3 separate regions of the Homo sapiens genome follow, and all the other regions are linked to region 3. The links are contacts of gene promoters, found by promoter capture Hi-C in blood cells and fetal thymus (Javierre and others, 2016). All regions are on one chromosome and are shown on one strand. Each heading gives the region's core, a stretch centred on a gene start or on the middle of the fragment in contact. The rest is flanking DNA. Distances are from core to core; before and after follow the strand shown. Region 1 overlaps RAB3GAP2 (RAB3 GTPase activating non-catalytic protein subunit 2). Region 2 overlaps EPRS1 (glutamyl-prolyl-tRNA synthetase 1). Region 3 holds the start of FAM177B (family with sequence similarity 177 member B).

Region 1 (2,700 bases), core at 137-2,636, 2.5 Mb before region 3:
TAGCTGACAACCAACTACTTGTGACTGGTACCTGAAGTAGGTAGAAGTCTTGTGGGACTGAGCTCTTAACCTGTCGTGATGATCTCATGCTATCTCCAGGTAGATGGTGTCAGAATCGAACTGAATTAGAGAATAACCAGCTGGTGTTAGCTGGAGAATCTGCCAAAGAAATTGACTGGTGTGTGGGAAAAAAAAAAAAAACCCTACATCTAGTGGCAGAAGTGTCGAGTGACTGTGTAAGAGAAAAGAAAAAACCTGTGATACAGTTTTTTCTTACATTTTCACAGTAGCATTATTTTAGATGCTGTGAATTATAAAAATCAAGTATTTGGTAAGGTTCCTACTTGAAGGAGCTTAAAAGACCTAAAGAAAAAAAAGTCGGGGAAGCTATGATTAACATACATGAAATAATTAGAAAATAAGTAGTCATTAACTATCCAGTTTTGATTGAAAGTAGAGTAGGAGTTCAGAGTTATCCATGGGGATCGAAGCATTATGTAAGAATTTGTGGAGTTAGGACTTGAATAGCATTATGAGGGGTTTGGATAGGAGGAGTGGGAGTAAAAGAAATCACCAGTGGTGACCATATTATAACCACGAGCCTGGCAAAAAGTAAAGGTCTGGCAATACCATGGAATATTGAGGCTGTGGAGTAACAGGGACTCATACAGAACAGGTGGGAATATAAATTAGTACAACTATTTTGGGAAACAATTTGCCATCAACTAGTACAGTTGAAGAAGCTCACACCCTAGCAATTCCACTCTTAGGTATAAACGCCAGAGAGACTCTTGCATATGTGAATGAGGAAATATGTACATGGATAAGCATAGCATCATTTGTAATGTCAAAAATCTGGAAACAACCTAACCGTTCACTGACAGGAGTGTAAATAAATTCTAGTCAGTGAGCAGAATTTGTATGGCATAGTAAATGAATCAATTATAACTATAACTACATACACCAATATGAATGACACAGAAACATAATCCTGAAGGAAAAACTAAAGTCACAGAAGACATAGGGCATGACTGCATTTATATAAAGTTTGAAAAGGCAGGAAATGCATCAACAGGTTTCAAAGGAGCCACACAGGAATGACGTAACTATAAAGTAAAGAAAAAGAAAGAACCACAAAATTCTAAATTACAGTTACCTTAGGGATGGGAGAAGGGAATGGGACTGAGGGGGGACACTCAGGGCTCTTTAGAGTTCCTGGTAAGATTTTATTTCCTAAGGTAGGTGGTCATACACACATATTTACTATTTTATATATATAATATATATAATGTAGGGATGTGTAGGTATGTGTATATAAAACACACTCAGATGTATGGCAACCCAGGCTGGAGTACAATGGTGCAATCTCAGCTCACTGCAACCTCCGCCTCCCAGGTTCAAATGATTCTCCTGCCTCAGCTCCTGAGTAGCTGGGATTACAGGCGCCCGCCAATACTGACCCAACTAATTTTTTTGTATTTTTAGTAGAGACGGGGTTTCACCATGTTGGCCAGGCTGGTCTCGAACTACTGACCTCATGATCCCCCTGCCTCGGCCTCCCAAAGTGCTAGGATTACAGTTACAGGCATGAATATTAATTTTTTTTTTTTTTTTTAAAGAGACAACAGGAACTTCTATCTGAAAATAAAGAAAGGGATAAACAATAAAAATGTGAAAAGAAGACTTCAGCCTCTCATGTTTGGGGGAAATAGGAAAATAAAGATTTTCTTAAGAAGGATGTATTATAGCTACTAGCAGGAAAGTTCGTGTATTATATACACTTACTTGTTTTTTGGTTGCAGGGTATTTAATATCAAGAATTAATTCCTTTATTTCTGTTTCAACCAAATCTATAAAGAAAAAAATAATCAAAGTAAAATTTTAATTTTTATAACAGTGAAACATTATTCTGAAAGAAAATGAACATATCTGTACTATCAGTGAGTCTAAAGGATTTTTGGGTTCTCTCACATTAATGTTTTCTTGTTATGAATTATAACACCCTCTAGATGGCACACTTCAGCCTTACAGAGCAATTCCAATAAGCTCATCCATGCATTATTTTGATTGCTCCATTCAGAATATTTTATTGATTTAAAAGATGATAGAACAATATGCTTTATTATTTGTATGAGAGAATACCTACCAAGATTGGGAGATTTTGTTTTCAGTAAGGCTGCTAGTTTCTTCACTAGGTGCATATCCTTGGCTCGTTCACTCTTCTTATCACTAAACCAATAAATATAACAAATTATTACAGAATGTGAAATTATTTTCTTTCTAATTCTGACACACTCCAACTTTTTTTTCCTTTATATATTTCCTATTTAACTTTAAAGATATCAGTCTAAAGACAAAGGAAACAACAAAATAGCAACTACAAAAGAGAGTACAACAAACCTAGGAACTAGGAAAAGTTAGCAGAGGAGCGTCAATCAGCAACACTGGACACACCTTACCTCAGTGCTAAATGGAAGGGAACGTTCACTGTTTTCACACTTCCAGACACTGGATCAACCAGACAGATCTGATAAGTCTGTGGCTGCCAACTCTGACTGGTAACATTATTTAAACCCATTATTTTATAGCCAGGATACAGCAGCCTAAAGAAATCACATACCAATATGGTAAAAATATTAGAACAAGGAGAAATGCCAAAAGGTGCTTTTATTATAGCTAGGAAACCCAACATTATTATCA
Region 2 (2,700 bases), core at 186-2,685, 2.8 Mb before region 3:
CAATTCAAGACTTTATGTTAACATGTTGAAAAATAATGTCATGTTAAATGACTACACTGTGTATTATTAAAGGCATTATACAACATTATTACTATTGCCTTTGTGCCCATATTTTAGAATCTGAACATAAAAAGCAGCCATTGACAGACTTAAAACATAAAAATCAACTGAATGCATACTCACCTGAGAATACCAATCAGCAAGATTTTCTTCTTTTTTTGCCTCAAGACCCAACCTGCAGATGTGAAAAGTAAAAGATAAATATCTTCATTCAGCAACTGCTTTAGGTTGAATAAAAATAAACCTCTAAAGTTCAAAATAGATTAGTCTTTCTTCAGTATGAGTTATTTCTGTATTTGTAACTCTTCTATATTCATTCCCAAGATAACGTTGTTGTTTTCTTGTTTTGTTTTTGAGACAGGGTCTTACTCTGTCACCCAGGCTGGAGCGCAATGGTGTGATCCTGTCTCACTGCAACCTCGGACTCCTCAGCTCAAGAGATTCTCTCACCTCAGCCTCCCCAGTAGCTAGGACTACAGGTGCATACAACATCTGGCTTATTTTTTTATTTTTATTTTTTGGTAGAGGCAGGGTCTCGCTATGTTGCCCAGGCCAGTCTTGAACTCCTGGCCTCATGCAATCCTCCTGTTCTGGCCTCCCAGAGTGCTGGGATTACAGGCATGAGCCACCATGCCTAGCCCCTAAGATAATGTTTTTAACCTAAAAAAACAGTAGAAATGCTGGGCACAGTGGCTCACGCCTGTAATCCCACCACTTTAGGAGGCCAAGGCAGGCAGATCACCTGAGGTCAGGAGTTTGAGACCAGCCTGACCAACATGGAGAAACCCTGTCTCTACTAAAAACAAAATGAGCCAGGCGTGGTGGCGCATGCTTGTAATCCCAGCTACTCGGGAGGCTGAGGCAGGAGAATGAATCGCTTGAACCTGGGAGGTAAAGGCTGCAGTGAGCCGAGATTGCGCCATTGCACTCCAGCCTGGGCAACAAAAGTGAAACTCCGTCTCAAAAGAAAAAAAAAAAAAAAAGAAAGAAACAAAAACAGCAGAGACATCTCTTAAAAAGTTGAGAGATATTGTCCACAAAATCTAGGAAAGCCAAATGTAACAAAAGCTATGATTCTATGCAGACATCTCTTTTACAAGGTTCTTTTTAAGGCAATGTATTTGTAATAGAGACACAGCCTGTTCACACCTATTCTCCCACTAAAAAAGAAGAATCTTATGCCAGTTAAAATTATAGTAAGATCACTGTTTCACTGAAAGTAACACCTAAAAAGTAATAAAAACAATGGCTATAAATACACACACATATGTGTGTGTACTGATGTGTGCATATTAGCCAAATTTATGTAAGTTTTTCTTTTTCTTTTTTTGAAACAGTCTCACCCCATCGCCCAGGCTGGAGTGCACTGGTGCAATCTAGACTCACTGCAACCTCCACCTCCCAGGTTTAAGCGATTCTCGTGCCTCAGCCCCCCTCCCCCACCCAAGTAGCTGGGATTACAGGTGTGTGCCACCATTCCTGGTTAATTTTTTTGTATTTTTAGTAGAGGCGGAGCTTTGACATGTTGGCCAGGCTGGTCTCAAACTCCTGACCTCAAGCGATCCACCCATCCCAGCCTCCCAAAGTGCTGGCATTACAGGTGTGAACCACCACGCCTGGCCTCAAGTTTTTCTTTTAACTAGAATAAAAGTTGCAGAGATAGATGCTTGTAAAATAAACTAGGTCTCCAATAAAAAAACTATTTCAGACAATAATCATTTTCTTGAAATATCAACAATTATTCAGGATAGAGATGGTCTCTTTTTGGAGTTTAAAAACAAGGTTTTACTGGCTAAAAATTTTAATGTATTTGCATTTGCATTCTCCATTGTTTCACTATGACATACCTCAACAAAATAACTCTGTGAAACCTAGCACTTTCACAGGCACTAAGAAAGTAAAAGGTGAGAAGTTCTACATTCTCTTCTACCCTGCTATAACTCTGGTTATTCAGTTTAATAGTCAAAAGGAAAAATAACTGTTGCATTCTCTTGTTTAAAGAGACATTGTGTATATGACATGAGAGCTAAGAGGCAGCAAAATTTGATACTCAGCTAAACAAATGTAAAACCAAAGTATCTCAGTAACAGCTTTTTCTTCTTATTAAGTAAGCCATTAAGGGAAACCCATCACAAAGTTCACTGTAATTGTGGAAACAGATAAAAAATTACAATTATGCGTCACTTAATGACATGAATACATTTTCAGAAATACGCTGTTAGGTGATTTCATCATTGTGCAAACATCATAGCTTGTACTTACACAAACCTAGATGATATACATATATTTTTATATGGAAAACCAAATATCCCAGCAACATTACTGAATATCAATAATTTCCCCCACTTGATCTGCGATGCCAATATCAAGTGCCATATATCAGGTTTCCATACATGCTCCATTATAATCTTATGGACCAATGTCATATATGTAGTCCACTGTTGACTGACACATCATTATGTGGTGTATGACCGTACATTATTTATACAGATTGGAAGATCCTTAAAGAGCCCTCTATCCAACCATTTTGTCTTTAGTCAGTTTTGTCTTATATTTAAACTATCAATTTTTAAATTGAGAATGAAGCTCTCACTTAGTCCCCACAAAAGATCTTCATCTGAAAAAAATCTGCTTAAGGTG
Region 3 (2,700 bases), core at 55-2,554:
AATAAACTTGGAATGTCACTTTGGGTTACCATAAGTTTGTATCTAAAGATTTTATTTGACATTTGAATAATTTGCTTAAAATTTAAATATTTAAGAATGTTATAGTAATAAAGGGATCAAAATAGTTAATCTGGAAGGGGAGTTGACAAATTATAAAACAGAAAACTATATTTGATTGTGCATATCCAAAAAGCCAGAGCTATCACTTCAGCAATTTAATGTATCTAATGCCTGTGATTTGCTTGAGGTCGGTAGAAGCTTATATAGTCACTTTCAGAGCACTCCCCTGAGAAAATGTCAAGACTTGAATTTGCTTCTCTAATGCAGAGCTTCTCAAGTAGTTTGTCTCAAGCTATTGATCGAAGCCTTCTGGGTGTCTAGCTGGGCAGCACTTAAGGTGGCTGGAGCTCCCAGGCTGGTCGCCTCCAGAATTCCAAACAACTAATTTTCTCTATCTGCCATGATGTAAAAAATGCTGTGAAACACCACAGTGGGACAGGCATGGACAGGCATGCAGGCAGTGGGGTGCATGTATGTGGTTTAATACTGAAAATAAGGATACAAAAATCCTGCCAGGTGATGCTCCTGTAATTCTCAAGGAGCGGCAGTGATTTGTTATTTCACATTTTTCCTCACTCTATCCTTGCCCCTGACACACACACTGCAAGTCACTGATTGGAGCAGGCCAGTTCCTTCAGGTGAAGGGGCCTAGAGAAATGTCGGTGAATACCCAGTGAATACCACGCTGTGAAACTCTGCATCTGAGGCACGCAGTGGGGCTTTGGTTCTCTCCTCTCACCAGGGGTTTGACCTTTCAACCACCTCAGAAAAAAGGAAAGGTGGAAGCAGGAAGGGGGACCAGCAGCTCCAGGCAAGCAATGCTAATTAGCTCCAGCGTAATGACCCAACATCAGTTCTTAGCTGAATTTTAACAGTCCATTTGAAAACATTTTCTAGATAAATGAAAATGGAAAGAGCTCTAGAAAATGTTTAAGTGTTACATACTTAAAATAGTATATTTACTTATTGAAGTTAAATGCCAAGATGTAGAACTAGTGTGTTATTTTCTTGGTACAGATTACAATGCTGTGTTTCAGTGAAGGAGCTAATTGAAATGATTAGTAGATAGATGTAATCAGAAAAATATTAAATGAAGATAGTAATTTCTAAAGCAGGAAATAAAGACAGTTACAAGTCTGTTCTTATTTTTCCAATCTGTTATATAACTCCTCCCACCCATTAACCTTAACTAAATGTATGATTCATTTGTTAAACAAATACTGAGTTCCAGCTACGTGTAAGGCATCATAGGGGCAGAAGATACAGCAGTGAACATAACAGGTAAAACCCTCCCCCTCTGCCAAGGGGCAGGACAGGGAGGAAAGGGAAGACAGAGACAGGTGGAATATGGAGTGTTCAGTGTTGGTAAGTGCTAAGGAGAAAAAATGAAACAGGAGGTAAGATGCAGAGGGTGGTGGTGAAGGCAATGGGAGGTTGCCTTGAAAGCGGAGCTCAGTGTAGTCTCCATTTGAGTTAAAGACTGGAAATGAGCAAGGAAACAGTCTAAGGAAAGAAAGACTAATAGAGCAGCCAGCAGAGAGCTCTCTGCAGAGAGAGAGGGCGGACCTGTGTGGTCAGGGAATTGCAGGAAGAAGGCCCGTGGGGTTAGAGTGATGTCAGTGGTGGGAGAGTAGTACAAGATGGCGTCAGAAAGCTCGTAGGGGTTAGGTATACAGCCTTGTAGGCCATTATGAGGAGTTTGGCTTTTACTCTAGGTGAGACGGGAACCCACTGGAGAGTTTTAAGCAAAGACATGACATGGTCTCACTTAGGATTTAACAATTCTGGCTCCTTTTCGAGCGTAGACTGGAGGGGGCCAATTAGGAGGCTGCTGCAATAATCTAGGTGAGAGACGACGGCAAGGGTGAGAGATGATAGACCAGGGTGGTAGCAGTGGAGTAATGAAAAGTATGATTCCAGAAATATCCAAGACAATTTCCTGGCAGATTTGATGTGAGGTGTGATTAAAGAAGAACCAAGAATGACTTTAGTGTTGTTGGCCTGAGCAACTGGAAGAACAGAGTTGCCATTTATTGAGATGAGAAGGCTGCCAGAAGAGTAGAGGTAAATGTGTGAGTATGTGTGTGTTGGGGGGATGGAGGGAGAGTTGCACTGAAAGCATGAGCAAAGATTTAGACAAATTAGGATTGAGATGTCCATTAGACAACTAAGAAGAGATGTCAAGCAGGTAGTTGGATCTGTGAGACTCAGGGAAAAAGTCTGACCTGGAGAATATAAATGTTACAATCATCTGTGTGTGGATAGTATTGAAAGCCACAGGGCCAAAGGAGATCATCAAGAAAGCAGATAGGAAAGAGAAGAGGTCCAATCACTGAGCCCTGGGGTAATACAATATTTAAAAGGTCAGAGAGATTATATGGCCTGTTAATTACATTATATACTTAGGAACTATCCTTCATAGTCTGTATTTGGGGTTTTTAAGAAACAAAAGGTAGAGGTGCTCCCAAGAATTAAACTGAGCCGGGCGCAGTGGCTCATGCCTGTAATCCCAGCACTTTGGGAGGCTGAGGCAGGAGGATCGCTTGAGTCCAGAAGTTCAAGACCAGCCTGGGCAATATAGGGAGACTCCGTCTCTACAAAAACTGCAAAAAAAAAAAAAAAAAGGCTGGGCGTGTGGCA

The links. Contacts are between HindIII fragments. The CHiCAGO score rates a contact against its expected background, and 5 or more counts as called.
Region 1: a contact is called between a fragment that was not itself captured here and the fragment with the promoter of FAM177B in region 3, in 1 of 17 cell types (neutrophils). The highest score is 5.4, in neutrophils.
Region 2: a contact is called between a fragment that was not itself captured here and the fragment with the promoter of FAM177B in region 3, in 1 of 17 cell types (monocytes). The highest score is 6.1, in monocytes.

Annotation. Positions count from the first base shown.
Region 1 is chr1:220,187,918-220,190,617 of GRCh38, forward strand. RAB3GAP2 (RAB3 GTPase activating non-catalytic protein subunit 2) reads right to left here. Exons shown (of 35, transcript NM_012414.4): 15 at 2,460-2,603; 16 at 2,147-2,229; 17 at 1,786-1,850. Among named protein-coding and RNA genes, the nearest start is that of MIR664A, 11 kb to the right of the region's middle. The HindIII fragment of the contact is 3,385 bases long and covers 1-2,700 here.
Region 2 is chr1:219,984,023-219,986,722 of GRCh38, forward strand. EPRS1 (glutamyl-prolyl-tRNA synthetase 1) reads right to left here. Exons shown (of 32, transcript NM_004446.3): 21 at 184-235. Among named protein-coding and RNA genes, the nearest start is that of SLC30A10, 57 kb to the left of the region's middle. The HindIII fragment of the contact is 4,066 bases long and covers 1-2,700 here.
Region 3 is chr1:222,735,898-222,738,597 of GRCh38, forward strand. It overlaps FAM177B (family with sequence similarity 177 member B), which reads left to right and starts at 1,305. Exons shown (of 6, transcript NM_001394345.1): 1 at 1,305-1,425; 2 at 2,007-2,124. RefSeq lists an enhancer at 547-1,088. The HindIII fragment of the contact is 3,071 bases long and covers 257-2,700 here.